Regions from separate parts of the Homo sapiens genome. Here region 1 is linked to region 2. Evidence: promoter capture Hi-C in human tissues and cell types (Jung and others, 2019). All regions are on one chromosome and are shown on one strand. The core of a region is centred on a gene start or on the middle of the fragment in contact, and the rest is flanking DNA. Distances in the headings are between cores, read along the strand shown. Region 1 overlaps MAP2K6 (mitogen-activated protein kinase kinase 6). Region 2 holds the start of ABCA5 (ATP binding cassette subfamily A member 5).

What was found. Contacts are between HindIII fragments. The study calls those that stand out against the background at their distance.
Region 1: a fragment that was not itself captured here is called in contact with the fragment with the promoter of ABCA5 in region 2 in 1 of the 25 tissues and cell types used here (dorsolateral prefrontal cortex).

Annotation. Positions count from the first base shown.
Region 1 is chr17:69,528,943-69,536,009 of GRCh38, forward strand. All of the region lies in intron 10 of MAP2K6 (mitogen-activated protein kinase kinase 6), which reads left to right. Among named protein-coding and RNA genes, the nearest start is that of MAP2K6-AS1, 47 kb to the left of the region's middle. The HindIII fragment of the contact is 4,717 bases long and covers 3,223-7,067 here.
Region 2 is chr17:69,322,148-69,329,855 of GRCh38, forward strand. ABCA5 (ATP binding cassette subfamily A member 5) reads right to left here and starts at 4,986. Exons shown (of 39, transcript NM_172232.4): 1 at 4,905-4,986. RefSeq lists silencers at 4,673-4,762, 4,893-5,272 and an enhancer at 5,353-5,492. The HindIII fragment of the contact is 9,468 bases long and covers 2,891-7,708 here.

The sequences.
Region 1 (7,067 bases), core at 4,331-6,830, 210 kb after region 2:
GGAATGATCTTATCTAGCTAAGTCTCTTCAAATTATTCTCCCTATTACCTTTCTCCCACCTATCCCCTTTTCCCAAGATTCTGGGTGCTTTAGGAAATTTTGGTAAGAACGAGGCTGGTGTGAAAAGTTTGAGAAAGCTGAGTCTACCATTGTGAATCACCAGTTTAATCCAATGATTCTCAACTGTGGCTGCTCATTTATAAAACTCTAGTGAGCTTTCAAAATCACTGCCCCCTAGGCCTCATCCTCATAGACTCTGATTTAACTGATCTGGGGAGGGGCCAAGATACTAATATATTTTTAAATGTTCTCAAGTCATTTTTATGTACAGCTGCGGTGATAACCCCAGGTTTAGACATATGATCTATGGACCTGCCATCAACTAGTTTCTGTTTAGAAGGTTTATTTTCTTCAATTTGTTTAAAAAAAATCATCCAATTGCTTGAATTTTCTTTCACCAGTGTATTTTTTCTCTTACTGGAATTTTCTCCGAAGAATCAGAGCATTGAAACTTTTTAGAGATATTTTAAAATGAACATCTTGAGAAATAAATGGTTTTTAATTTTTTTTTTTTTTTTTTTTTTTGGAGACGGAGTTTTGCTCTGCCACCCAGGCTGGAGTGCAGTGGCACGATCTCAGCTCACTGCAAGCTCCGCCTCCTGGGTTCACGCCATTCTCCTGCCTCAGCCTCCTGAGTAGCTGGGACTACAGGTGCCCGCCACCACGCCCGGCTAATTTTTTGTATTTTTAGTAAAGACGGGGTTTCACCGTGTTAACCAGGATGGTCTCGATCTCCTGACCTCGTGATCTGCCCCGCCTCAGCCTCCCAAAGTGCTAGGATTACAGGCTTGAGCCACTGCGTCCGGCCAATTTTTCTAATTTTAATGTATGCACACATATATGGAAGTTCCAGATACCGGCATCATTGCTCTTCATATAATGACTGCCCTGTGCCTTCTCTCTCCTTATAACACCCATAGTGCCTTCATGGCTGCCTGCAAAGATATCCCCTTCTCTCTCATTTTCTTTTAATTTTAATCCCAGCTACCACAGTTCATTAATTAAAAAATTTTGAGCCGTAGACATGTCTCAGCTTTCCTGAAACTGTTAATTCTATTAATACTGTTTGCTCGGTGTCATGTCATTTCTACTCAAGTAAGTCAGTTTGTCTTATATCTGGGTATATTAAAAACAATACTCTGTCTCTACAAAAAATACACAAATTAGCTGGGTGTGGTGGTGTGCACCTGGGGACCCAGCTACTTGGAAGGCCAAGGTGGGAGGATCGCTTGAGCTTGGAAGGCTGAGGCTGCAGTGAGCCATAATTGTCCCACTGCACTCCAGCCTGGGTGACAGAGCAAGATCCTGCCAAAATAAGATAAAATTAAATAAATAACAAAATGCAATATAAAATAAAATAAAATATGAAACTATCTAGAAACAAAACCCAAATCACTTTACCCTAGAAGTCATTAAAAGATAAATTTTCCTTCCTCAAAGTGTCAGTATTATAGTTCTGGTAGAATGCTATACTTAAGAATATCAGTTGTCTAAAATAGTCATTTTGTTGGTATGGGAATTAAGAAATAGAAGGGAATCGTTAATTCTGAATTTTATGAGCATTCTTACTTATCCTCAGTTTGACTTTTTCAGCATGCAAGCTCTCCTATTTCAGATCCCAGGTCAATAACTTTTTTTCCCTGCCACAAACCACCAATATATTTTCTTTGATATCCCTTAAGTATGAACATTATTTTTCAACTGGGTTGAAAAAGTCATCTTATACTCAAAAAGTAGCACTGATTTTCTTTTAGAGTTTATGACTGGCCTAGAACTTTACGGAAGCAATTTTATTTTTCATACATATATTAATATATGGGTACATACCTCCAGCCATTAGCCATCTAGTGATTTTACTTGTTTGATTACTGAAAGCTTGAGGTTTGATCTGGAGCTTGGTGGAAAGAATGGAAAAGTGATAATGTTAACAGAAGAGTACCTCTTCTACCTCTTCATGAACATTCCCTGTGCACGTAACTCCCCTTTATCAGCTATTCTTTTATTTTTCTCATGAATAAAGCTGTGTTATTGAGACATAACTTCATTAAAGGACCTTTTTTTTTTTCGTGAGCTCCATGTTTTTTATATTTTTATTATGTAGGCTATGGTCCTCCCAGACTTCTCAGAAAGGCCGCTCTATGTGCTAAGTGGGGAAGGGAGACTACGGATTTCAAAAGTGAAATATTTAATCTCAAATTTCAAGATAGATACATCTATGTTTTTATTGCCTACATCTGTCTTTGGTATGCAGAAAAAGAACCCATTATACCCGCAGCCTAGGTAACTGTCAGAGTATTTGTGAACTTGTGTATCCTACCTAAGCATTCGATGTCACAAAGCTACTAGGTATCATACACCTGCCTAGGTATCATACCCGTGCCAAGGAATCAACTTGGCACGATGCCATCACCATGTTGCAAGGTACCATAATTCTGTATCCAGGGAATTGACTTGGTAGCCACTCTTGTCTGGCCCATCAGTATTGATCACTGCTTGTTAGTTGACAGTAAATCACTTAGTTTGTAGGGTGAAGTAGAAAAGCTCTAACAGGCTATCATCACCACACCCAAAGTTAGACCTAGAGTCCAGAGTTCCAGTTTTTGCATTTCTTTTGCAGTAACATCTGACAAATGTTATCTTGAAGGAGAAGGAAGAATTAACCATATGAACGTAAAGGAAAAAAGCAAACCCACAATGGTTTCTTACAAACCCTTCTTTTCTGTATTTATTTTGAGATAGGACTACAGAATGAGATTTTCTTCCTCTTTTTCCTATATATCTCTTTCTTATCGTAGGGGTTTTAAGGAGTTCTTGAGTTGGGTTGTGTTGACCATGTCAGCCTTGTTTTGAGATTCATCATAGAGAAGTCTAATAGAGAAGTCTTGCTTTCTAGTCCTGCAGAAGGGTTAACAAACGAGTTCGCAAAAGATTGGAATCTTAGCCGGTTTACACTTTTCATTATAAACTCTTCCTATAGGTTCACAGAAGGAAGTCACTGGAAGTCAACTGCCGAGTGCCAGATCAGCTGGACTTCCCTTTGGCTTTTTCTCCAGGCCTATTTAAGAAGCTGTGGGCCCAACTGACCAGTCTGATGGCATATTGAAGGGTAGTGGAGGCCCACTCAAGCATCAATATTGTCTGACTCAGGGAAACTAGCATAAAACACAGACAGTCAAATACAGTCTCCTACTTGTGTAGGAAGGACAGTAAAAAGAGGCACTAGATGTTTATTTAGCTTTTGACAAATGTATGCCTTGAAACGCGCAATGTGTTTTTATTCTGTGGATGTACCAAATAGCCCTTCTTGGAAATGATCGGGGGAATTCAAATAGGCAGAAATCCTCTGGTCAGCACAAACTACAAGCTAGCAATTCTCAAGACAGCATGAGCTGTTTTTTAGTGTCAGCTATGGTCAGAAGCGTGTGTTGTGGCATTTGGAAAAGGAATTAGGGCAGTTAGCTAATTGCACGCTTGAAAATGAGAAGCTCTTTGAAAATTCAAAAGTCTGATTCCAGTTCAAAAAGAAATTGGTGTTGCTTTGAACTCCAAAGTTGTTATTGTATACTGAATTTCAAGTACTTCCTACTAAACATGGAAAATTTGCTTTCCCCCCAACCTTATCCTGAGTGTATTGCTATTCTTAGCCCATGTTTTGAAGTGTTCTTGATTTAAAAGATGGAGAGAATGGGTTATATCAGTTCCATTAATTTAATAAACAGCCTTGCTTTGCGGTGTAAGTATTTTCCATCTATATTCTGCAGTAGTGTTTGGGGTAGATTGTGAGCTTTCTAATCAGGGGCCATGAGTCAAGGAATAGCCTATTGACCAGTTAGTCTTGGAGGTTTCAGGAATCCTTAACACTTTATGATGGATCAACTAGGGTACTTTCCCCATATTTTCTTTATACAGAGTTAACAAAAATCTGGAGATTTTTTTTTTCTTTTTTGATACAGTCTCACCCTGTTGCCCAGGCTGGAGTGCAGTGGTGCAATCTCAGCTCACTGCAACCTCCGCCTCCCAGGTTCAAGTGATTCTTGTGCCTCAGCCTCCCTAGTAACTGGGATTACAGGCTCCTGCCACCATGCTCAGCTAATTTTTGTATTTTTAGTAGAGTCGGGGTTTCACCGTATTGGCCAGGCTGGTCTTGAACTCCTGACCTCAAGTGAGCTCAAGTGATCCACCTGTCTCACCCTCACAAAGTGTTGGGATTACAGGCATTAGCCACTGCACCTGGTCGAGAAATCTTTATAAGCTGTTCCAGAAGTGAAAAGATAAGATATCCTGACTCAAAATCAGTATTTTAAAAAAATACAGCATTTAAAAAAAATACAGTATTTTTAAAAATGGAGATGTTTAAGCTCATCTATCTGTTGGAAAGAGACAGTCATTTTATCTTTTCTGCTAAATATAAGGTAAAAAATCAGCACATTTTTACATTTGAGAAACAAGCTTTTCTTCCTGACATTGCCTTGGTTCTGTTGTTGACCAATGAAAGCTAGTAACGGAGTGGGCCTGGGTCCTCAGTGAGAGTGTTCCAGATGCAATGCGGAGTTTAAGGTCTAAATAGAGACAGCCAGAATCAACCATCTGAATATTGAGTGTGGATTTAATGTTGTGCTTGCACTTTTTGTTATTTACTTAGCGTGTTACATTGTTCCAGCGATAGAGAAGCATTTCTGGTTTTTGATTTGCTTTGAACAATAGTGGGAAATTCAGGGCTTCTAGCCTGTTTGTTTTTTTTTTTTTTTTTTACCAGGGTCTGTGTGCAAGTCAGCAACGCTCCTGGGATCACATTGCTTCTTCTGTGTTTCTTTCTAGGTAAACTAGCTCTTGAACTTAGAAAGAAACACTTTTGCTTCCTGGGGTTGAGGGCAGGAGACGGTCGTGGTGAGAATGTGCTTAAAGACAAAGACAAACCAGCTGGAGATGGTCCTTTTAAGTGAAGGGGAGAGGAAGCCGCAACAAGGAGGGACCACCTATTACACAAAGCACAGCGTTTCTTAATCTCTGCACTCATGACATTTTGGGCTAGAGTGTTCTTTGTTGTGCGGGATTGCCCAGTGCATTACAGGATGCTTAGCAACATCCCTGGCCTCTACCTATTAGATGCCAGTAACACCCTGCCACCAGATGTAACAACCAAAAATGCCTCCTGACATTTTCCATATATCCCCTGGGGAGCAAAATGACCTCCAGCTGAGAACCACCCACGTAGACTCTCAGCATCTAGGTACCTACAAAACCATCGGTGGGAGTTACACGGACTCATTCATTTCACTCAGCACACATTCCCATATCAATCAGACTTTGCCGCCTGTTAATTCCTCTTTCTAATGCGCTCTTATTTTTATCCTCAGTTGAGATGAAACTTTCTCTCATAGGTTGTCTGGTCACTGAGGTCACTAGGTCCTAGGTCTGCCCTCAGTTCCAGGTTGAAACTTCTGTCCTCACATCTACCTGTAGCCTGTCTCAGGTTCCCTGGCTTCCACCCACAGCATTGCCTGGAACAAACTGGTAGGCTGATTTTAAGTTGTTTTGGTTCAAAAACTTTCTCTCTCTCTTTTTTTTTTTTTTAATTTTATTTCGTTTTAAACCACAGTTTCTCAAAGTGCCTGAACTACTTCGCTCTCTCATGGTTCTGTACCTTACCCCGTCATGCTTAGCTTCGGAGGGTGAGGCAGAGCTCACGTCACACATGCTAGGTCTCATTTGCTCAAAATGATCCCTTAGCTCAAATCCCAGCAACCTAACAATCAGTTACATTTTGATTCCTCCAACTCCAGGCAAAATTCCTTTCCATTCCAATGCCAGGCAAAGCTCCTTTCCATTCATGTATGATTTTGTGGTCCGTTGGGCACAGGAGTCTGTAGGTTGCCTTGCAAATCATAGTTTTCAAAATCATCTTTTTCTGCATTCTGTAACCTGGGATTCCAACTCCAAGTAAATTGTTTCTTTTCTTTTCTTTCTTTCTTTTTCTTTTTTTTTTTTCATTTTAAGGCCAGAGTTGGATAGAGGATAGGGATGGGCTGAGAATGGGGTGATGGGTTGGTCTCTTCATCTTACAGTTTTATTACTGTTAAATAATAAGTAACAGCATTTATTGCCTCCGGTATCAAATGTTATTAAATGTCTGTGTCAATGGAGAGCAGAATAACCAGAAGTCACCTGACAATAGCGCATGACCATAAAGTATTTCTAACAAGAATAATTGCTGTCACTGAGTGCGCTCTCTCTTTTATCAGCTGTCATAAACAGGTCTTATTACCTTTGTCATAAACAAGTAGTATTACCTTAGAAATGTTATGGGGGGTTGGGCACAGTGGCTCACACCTGTACTCCCAGCTCTTTGGAAGGCTGAGGCAGGTGGATCACTTGAGCCTAAGACTTCGAGACCAGCCTGGGCAACATGGTGAAACCCTGCCTCTACAAGATACAAAAATTAGCCAGGCATGGTGGCACGTGCCTGTAATCCCAACTACTCAGGAGGCTGAGGCAGGAAGATCACCTGAGCCTAGGGAGGTGGAGGCTGCAGTGAGCCGAGATTGTATGCCCCTGCACTCCAGCCTGGGCAACAGAGCCAGCCCCTGTCTCAAGGAAAAGAAAATAAATATTAGGGGTTTATTGCTTCTATCTCAGGCAGATTTGGTTAGGACTATATAAAAGCAAATTATACATTCATGGGAAACAGAAGCAAAAAGAACCAGGTACCTGACAGTGAAGAGATAACAAATGGCAATGTAAGAAACACTTGCCAATTTCTTTGTCTGTGGAAATGGCATTAAAGCTGCTTTGAAGGAAAGTAGATTTTTTGAAATAAAATGGCTATAGATCAGAAAAATTAGTGTGCATATCATCGGTAAAGTATCAAAAGGAAAGTACACACACACACACACACACACACACACACAACTATTTTTCCCATTAAGGCACAACCAGGGTGATTTAAAACATGATACATAAGTGTTACAGAAGAGGAAAGTCAAGATAGGAGGCTGTGTTTTCAATAC
Region 2 (7,708 bases), core at 3,736-6,235:
GATCACGAGGTCAGGAGACAGAAACTATCCCGGCCAACATGGTGAAACCCTGTCTCTACTAAAAATACAAAAATTAGCTGGGTGTGGTGGCGGGCACCTGTAATCCCAGCTACTCAGGAGGCTGAGGCAGGAGAATCACTCGAACCCGGGAGGTGAAAGTTGCAGTCAGCTGACACTGTGCCAATCCAGCCTGGCAACAGAGCAAGATTCCGTCTCAAAAAAAAAAAAAAAAAAAAAAAAGTGCTGGTTACTACGTTCCAAGTCCTACGAAACATATTCCACATCACTAAAAGTAATAAAAATGTACATAACCTTTAGAAATAATTGTTAGAGAAAAATTATTTAGGATGCATGAATTTAATTAATTAAAATAAGAAATTTGAAAGCTATAAAGTATTTTTTAAAATCTAAGGTAGTTCTACTATTATACCTACTGCCTTTGTTAAAAGCAGTGCTTTCCTTAGAAGAGCCTCTCTCTTCCCCCACCTCCCCCGCAAAATCCATCACTTATCTAATGATACCATTATCTCCTTCAAATATTTTCAGCTAGTAAAACAACTCACTGCACAGCAGAGGAGGTACTAAATACCTGTGGAATAAACAATCCATTTATTATGTAGCAGGTAAAATAACTTTAAATTTTTTAAATTATTTTCATAGAGACCTGATTAAAAACATATCCATGTTTATTTCTGTGAGAAACAAATTAAGATTATACCCTATAAAATAAATAAGTTGAGTCATCCTGATGTTTAGAGCCATCCTGATAAGAAACGTGGTCACCTTCTTAGCATCCTTAAAAGATTTCCAGAAAGGCTAGCTGAAAATACATTCCCTACCTCCAACAAATGACTGTTAGAGGTTACTTCTCATCCACCTAAGCAGATGTAACAGAAAATGGATAGTCTGTCTACTTGGGGCTTCTAAACGTTGTTCGGCACTGAAGGTTGACTTTGGAGACTGGGTCATGAAGCTTGACCTCTTAATTACTGACCTTTTGTTATACATGAAATTCCTTCCTTATTTTCTTGTTCCTAGATCACACCAGATGATGCCAGGGATAAAAGACCGCTGACTGTGATAAAAGACCCTTTGACCATTACATCCTTAATGTGAAATGTTAAATATACCCTTCCCCCAAAAAGAAACACTGCCTATAACTAATTGAATTGCTCTAACTATGCACTAACCTCGTACGAAAAATGATGTAACCCTGTTAAGCATCCCCAGGCCTTGCCTATGTAAAGGACCCTCAAACCTCTCCACTTTGGAGCATTTACCTCATCCTTCAGGAGTCTGTGTCCTCCTGTGTGACCATCCTCAAGTTTTATGCTCAAATAAACTCAATTTTTAATCATATTGCCTAAATGTCATTATTAACATTGACATGGAGCTGATTATCACTCCTTTGTTTTACCTCTATACCCAGTAAACATAACTGTAACTGCAGTAACTATACCCTGTCACCATTATTTATTTATATATTTTCATCTTGAACTTGACCATGAGATCCTTGATGAAAAAAACAACAGTCTTATTTATCTTTGTTTCTCCACCACCAATGGAAATATTAAACCCAGTATCATCTTACCACAGATTCCTTTATCAAGGCTTCCTGAGAGTCCTTAAAGATCAAGGATGTGCAAACTATGATGAAAGAGGTGGGGGCTAAATCCAACCCTCAGTCTGTTTGGCACAGCCCATGAGGAACACTGCTTCTGCATTTTTAAAAGGTTGAAAAATAATAATAATATCTTGTGACATGCAAAAATTATATGAAATTCAAATTTCAGTGTCTATAAATACAGTGTTATTGGAACACAGCCATGCTCATTCATTTATGTATTATCTATGACTGCTTTTGTGCTACAACAGTAAAGTTATTGAGACAGAGACCATACTGTCTGCAAACCTAAAATATTTACTATCTGGCACTTTACAAAAAACGTTGGTCAACTCCTGTAAAAAGGAAGAAGAGGGGAAGTGAGAAAAGTGGCATATTCACTTAACATTTACTGAAGGATTTATGCATCCAACATTATGAGGCAAAAAAAATAAAGTTAGACACTGTCACTAACTTTGCAGAGAGATAAAATTTAATATAATGTGATAAGAGAGAAAGAGCCTGGAAAGGAGTGGAATGGAATTTCCAGGCAGAAAGAAAAGAATGGTAAAGCTAGACTCCCAAACAAAAGGGCTTGACTTTTGTGAAGAACAGGGATACCTGCCATATGGCAGAGGCATAAGGCAAAGTGAACCGGAGCAAGGGGTGCAGATGTATGTTCTAGATAACACGGTAAAGGCAGGCATTGGGAATGGATTATGAAGTTTCTGGTATCCAAAATTAGACACCCTAATTTGTGCACTCATATCTTTCCTCTACTGTACTTTTCACAACTGTGAGTCATGTTTAATTTCCTAGCAATCACATATTCCACTAGTCCATCACTTTCCCAATCCCCAAATCTCCAAAGCTTCCATCTGTAGGATCACCCTCAGATTATGACCTTGAATCCTACTTTACTGAGAAAACTGAAGCAATTAAAAGAGATTTCCAAAATCCACCACAAAGTAATGTTATACATTTCAACAATGTGCCATTTCAGCCTAAACTGAAGACTGATTTCATTACAACTCTGAAACACAAGAAATTAAATGCAATCTGGTATTAGCTACACTTTTAAACTAAGATATTTTTGGAATGAGAAATTAGGAACATATCTGGCACATGAAACAAACTCCTGCCTAGCTACATCATTTGCTTCTCAATCAATGAAATAAAAGCACTACAAAATATGCCTTTTAGCTTAAAAAGGGATAAATTATAAATGCTCTCATCTTCTTTATTGCTTTAAAATTTACTGTAAGGTGGTGCAATAATAAAACAAAATGCAGTCAGGTGCAGTGGCTCACGTGGCAATCCCAGTGGGAGGAAGGCTTGAGCCCAAGAGTTCAAGATCAACCTGGGCAACATAGAGAGACACTGTCTCTACCAAAAAAAAAAAAAAAAAAATAGCCAGGCGTAGGGGCACACAACTGTGGTCCCAGCTACTTGGGAGGCTGAGGTGGGAGGATCACTTGAGCCTGCGAAGTCAAGGCTGCAGTGAGCCAAGATCCTGCCACTGCACTTCATCCTGGGTGACAGAATGAGACCCTGTCTCAAAAAAAAAAAAATGCTAGTTGTCAATATAATTTAACCTAAATTTTATCACAGTGTTTCTTGCTGAGGGAGAAAATAACAATGCAATGGTACACAGAGGACAAGTCATCCAATAAATTTTCTTATGCATAATAGGTCCTTAAAAGCTTGCCCTTAAAACTATTTTTAATCCAACTAATTTACATACTAGAAAAGTTATGACTTAGTACAATATCATAAAATTCTTTTATGCAATCACCCTCTCAACTAAACTCAAGGACAGAGATTATAAATTGTATTCATATCGGTACTCTTGGCACATAGTATGGTATCTGGAATGTAAAAGACATGCAACAAACCAGCCTGGGCAATATAGCAAGACTTCGTCTCTGAAAAACAAATAAAAAATTACCTGGGCGCAGTGACACACGCCTGTAGCCCCAGCTATTCAGCAGGGTCCCTAGAGTCCAGACGTTCAAGGCTGCAGTGAACTTTGATCGCACCACTGCACTCTAGCCCGAGACGCTGTCTCTTTAAAAATAAAAGACATGCAATACACATGGAATGTACTAATAAATTTGCTCTTATAGTGAATGTAAGATTTCCCTACACTAAATCTGTTTGAAAGGAAATATACTCAAACAGCACATATGCAAAGATTAACGCCTCTTTAGTTTGATTTTAACACAAATACCCACAAAGCCCTAACTGCCCTAATAATGTTCCCTACTATGGAGTCTTCCCTAAAACACATACAATATTGCTCTCCCGGCAAACACAAAATATACTAAATAAAGCACCAGAATTAGGGTCTGGCAGCCCGGGTTGGAATCTCAACTCCATCCTTTTACTAGCTGAGACCTTAATAAGTTACTTAACCTCTTTGAGGCCCATTCTCCACACCTGCCCAACTGGAATAACCCCCTCCAATCCTACAGGGTTGCTGTCAGAATGAAAAGAGCTAATACCGAGCCTGGCTTAAAGCTGTAGTCCAGCAAATACTCCTCTTCCCTTAGATTCCTTCAGAACGCCCTTGTAGAAAGTAAACGTGGTTATTATCTTCATTATTTTCGGACTTATTTATTTAAAACGTAAATCGAAGCCTGAGGAGCCCAGGGGAAAACCTCCTTCAGCTTAATAGCTCCAGCCTGCCCAGCTTTCCGATCCAATTAAGTATTTCCATGCCTGGAGCTCCTATTCGTGTTTTAGGATCAGGGAATTTCCCTCCCAAACTGTGTCATGAGATCTGCGCATTTTCTTCTCACTGAAACTCCTTTTAACACGCAAGGTAATGATCCGCGCGTAACCTCGCAGGGAAGAGCAAGCGCTCATTACCCAGCTGTTCAGACGGAAATTTACATCAATATTTGTTTTCCTTCTTTCCCTGAGGTTGCTGAGGGTGGAACGACAGCGTCCAGGCAAAGGCAGTGTCCCGAAGTCCCACGGCCGGACCCGGTCCCAGGGGAGCCTCGCGGAGCCCCCGCCGCAGGGCCCCGACCCCCTCACGTCCGCATCCTGGGCGCTCCCACCGCATCCCCGAGGCTGGCAACCCGCGCTTCCCGGGAGCTGAGGGAGGTCTGTTTCCCTCAGCTCGCCGCCTCTGCCCGCTTCCGAGCCCGCTTCACCCCACACCTCAGACGCCGAACTCCCCTTCTCTCCCCGCCGTCCCTCGCTGGCCAGCCCCTCCTCGTCCCCTCAACTCCCCCAGGGACGGCTGTCCCAGGCTAGCCTCAAGCGCCGCCGCCGCCCGCGACGCCCGCCTCACCTCAGGGCCCGAGCCGCAGAGCTGTCAGGCCTGGACGCGCTCAGTCTGTTGACTCAGTGCGGGTGACCCAGCTGGGATCTGTGCGAGGGCGCGGCCGCGCGCACCCGCGCGCTCCTGGCGCAGGCAGAGCTGGCGGCGCCGAAGTCGCGCCCCGCCTCCTGCAGAGCGCACCTGAGGGCGGGGCTCCTAGAAAGCGCCGCTCCGCGTACGGGCGCGCTTCAGACGCTCGGCCCCGCGCGTCCCGGCGCACGCAGGCAAGCAGCGCGCCCGGAAGAGGAGAGCGGCTGAGGGTGGGGCGAGCGGTGGCGCGCCGCTGCCCAGGGCCCCTGAGCCACTAGAGTCGGGCCTCGTGGCTCTTCCCCAGGGCCTCCCACGCCTGGGTTCTGCGGGGATCTCGCCACGCTCTTTCTGGAGGCACGGGCAAAAACCACGGCCTCGTGTCTCAGTGGTAAACCTGCCGCCTCTTAGCGGGTGACCTTGGCCCACGGCCCTCTCCTCATCTGCCTCGCCCAGTCACGTCTCCTCTTAAGCATCCTTGCCGTCTGTCTCCTGGCATTTGGATGGGCCTCTCTGAACGCGTTTTGAGTCCTCTGCAGCCCCGCTTCCTCCCGCCGCGGCATCTGGAGTGCTGTGGCCCCGTTTCCGTAACTCTTGCCTCCCCTCCCCAGCCTCCTCATTGGCCCTCACACCCCGACCTGGGAGGTCCTCCCACTGAGGGTGCTTGTAGTTCGCGGAGTGTCCTCATCAAAGACTGGGAATGCGGCAGATGCTGAATTTTCCAAACGGCCTGAGACACATGACATCTGTGAGAGACTGGATACTGCACTTACTTTGCTAAAAATATAATCTAGTGTTTTGAGCTTCATTACTCAAAGTGACCTAAATGGGGTCAAAAGTTATTAACACTAACATTACGTATTTTCCTCTCCACATTTCTGTATAGTCACATTCCCTTGCACAAAGACTTTTTTTTTATTCTGTCAATCCTGTGTACATCATGTTTTTTTTTTTTACTTGTCTTTGTGTTATCTGCTTCTCGAATTTAAACCAGGTCTCCCCAACATGCACTCTGCTTTCTAAATTCTTAGGGGAAAAACAAACAAACAAGGAATCAAGTTTTACTTATGGAATATGAATTAAATAGAAAATTCAAAGAGGTTCGTCAGAATCCTTGATGATTAAAACAGCGGTCCCCAACCTTTTGGGCACCAGGGACCAGTTTCATGGAAGACAGTTTTTTCTGGGGGAGGGAGGATGGTTTGGGGATGATTCAAGCACATTATATTTACTGTGCACTTTATTTCTACTGTTACTACACTGTAATATGTAATGAAATAATTATACAACTCACCATAATGTAGAATCAGTGGGAGCCATGAGCTTGTTTTCTTGCAACTAGACAGTCTCATCTGGGGGTGATGGGAGACAGTGACAGATCATCAGGCATTAGATTCTCATAAGGAGCACGCAACCTAAATCCCTCACATGCGCAGTTCACAATAGGGTTCTCGCTCCTATCACAATCTAATGCCACTGCTGATCTGACAGGAAACGGAGTTCAGGCCCTAATGCCAGCCATGGGGGGCCCCTGTAAATACAGATAAAGCTGCACTCACTTGCCCTCCGCTCACCTCCTGCTGTGCTGCTTGGTTCCTCGCAGGCCACAGATCCCGGTAGCAGTCTCTGGCCTGGGGATTGGGGACCCCTGGATTAAAAGATCTAGCAATGGGGATGGGGGAAAGGGAGATAAGTATATTCAAAAAACTACACCAGGAAACTAAAGAAGGCATGTAATGAAAACTATCCCTGATATATTCTGTCTCTTTTGGAAACATCTAGAACATTTTAGTTACAAATTCTCAATGGCCTAGGATTTGGGGCCAAGTAAAGAAATATACATGAAAGATAAACTTGGTTAACATGTTACTGAACCATACTTTCACCCCAACACTTCTCACTAGTAGCCTTAACCTGCCTTAACTTCAGAAGTCTACTCATTTCTACTACTATTCTAGGCATTTATTTCTTACATTTCTTATCCTTGTAATGTTCTCTGTCATTCATTCTGTCTGCTCATGCTTTTACTCTTGTTTCTAAATGACATGACCAAAACCCAATTCTCCAAAAATCTCATCACCCTGGACAAAATGATCTCACTCTCCTCCCAATTGCCTACATACTACCATCTTGTTCACATCATTTTATTTACTTACCATCTCTTCAATTAAATTGTAAATAGTCTTAGGTTAAGAGCTTTTTCTTGACTTGTCTTTTTCTTTTCTTTTCTTTCTTTCTTTATTTTTGTGACAAAGTTTTGCTCTGTCACCCAGGCTGGAGTGCAGTGCCATGATCACAGCTCACTGCAACCTCTACCTCCCAGGTCCAAGTGATCCTTCCATCTCAGCCTCCTAAGTAGCTGGGACTACAGGTGCATGCCACCACACAGGCTAGTTTTTGTATTTTGTTGTAGAGACAGGGTTTTTCCATGTTGCCTAGGCTGGTATCAAGCTCCTGGGCTCAAGTGATTCTCTGTCCTTGGCCTCCAAAAGTACTGGGATTACGGGCCTGAGCCATAGCACCCAGGCGAAAGCTTCTTCTTATACCGATTTAAATTTCCAAGTCCTATGCATCATAGTATACAGTAAATATTATTAATGCTTCCAATGAGAAAACACATATAATAAGCAAGAATATTCAAATATTTTCATTTCCCCCACAAAATGTCACCACCCACTCAACAAGGGCTACCTACTCATAAAAGGGAAGATATCAAATTCCCCTTATAGGATGAATGACAAAATTAT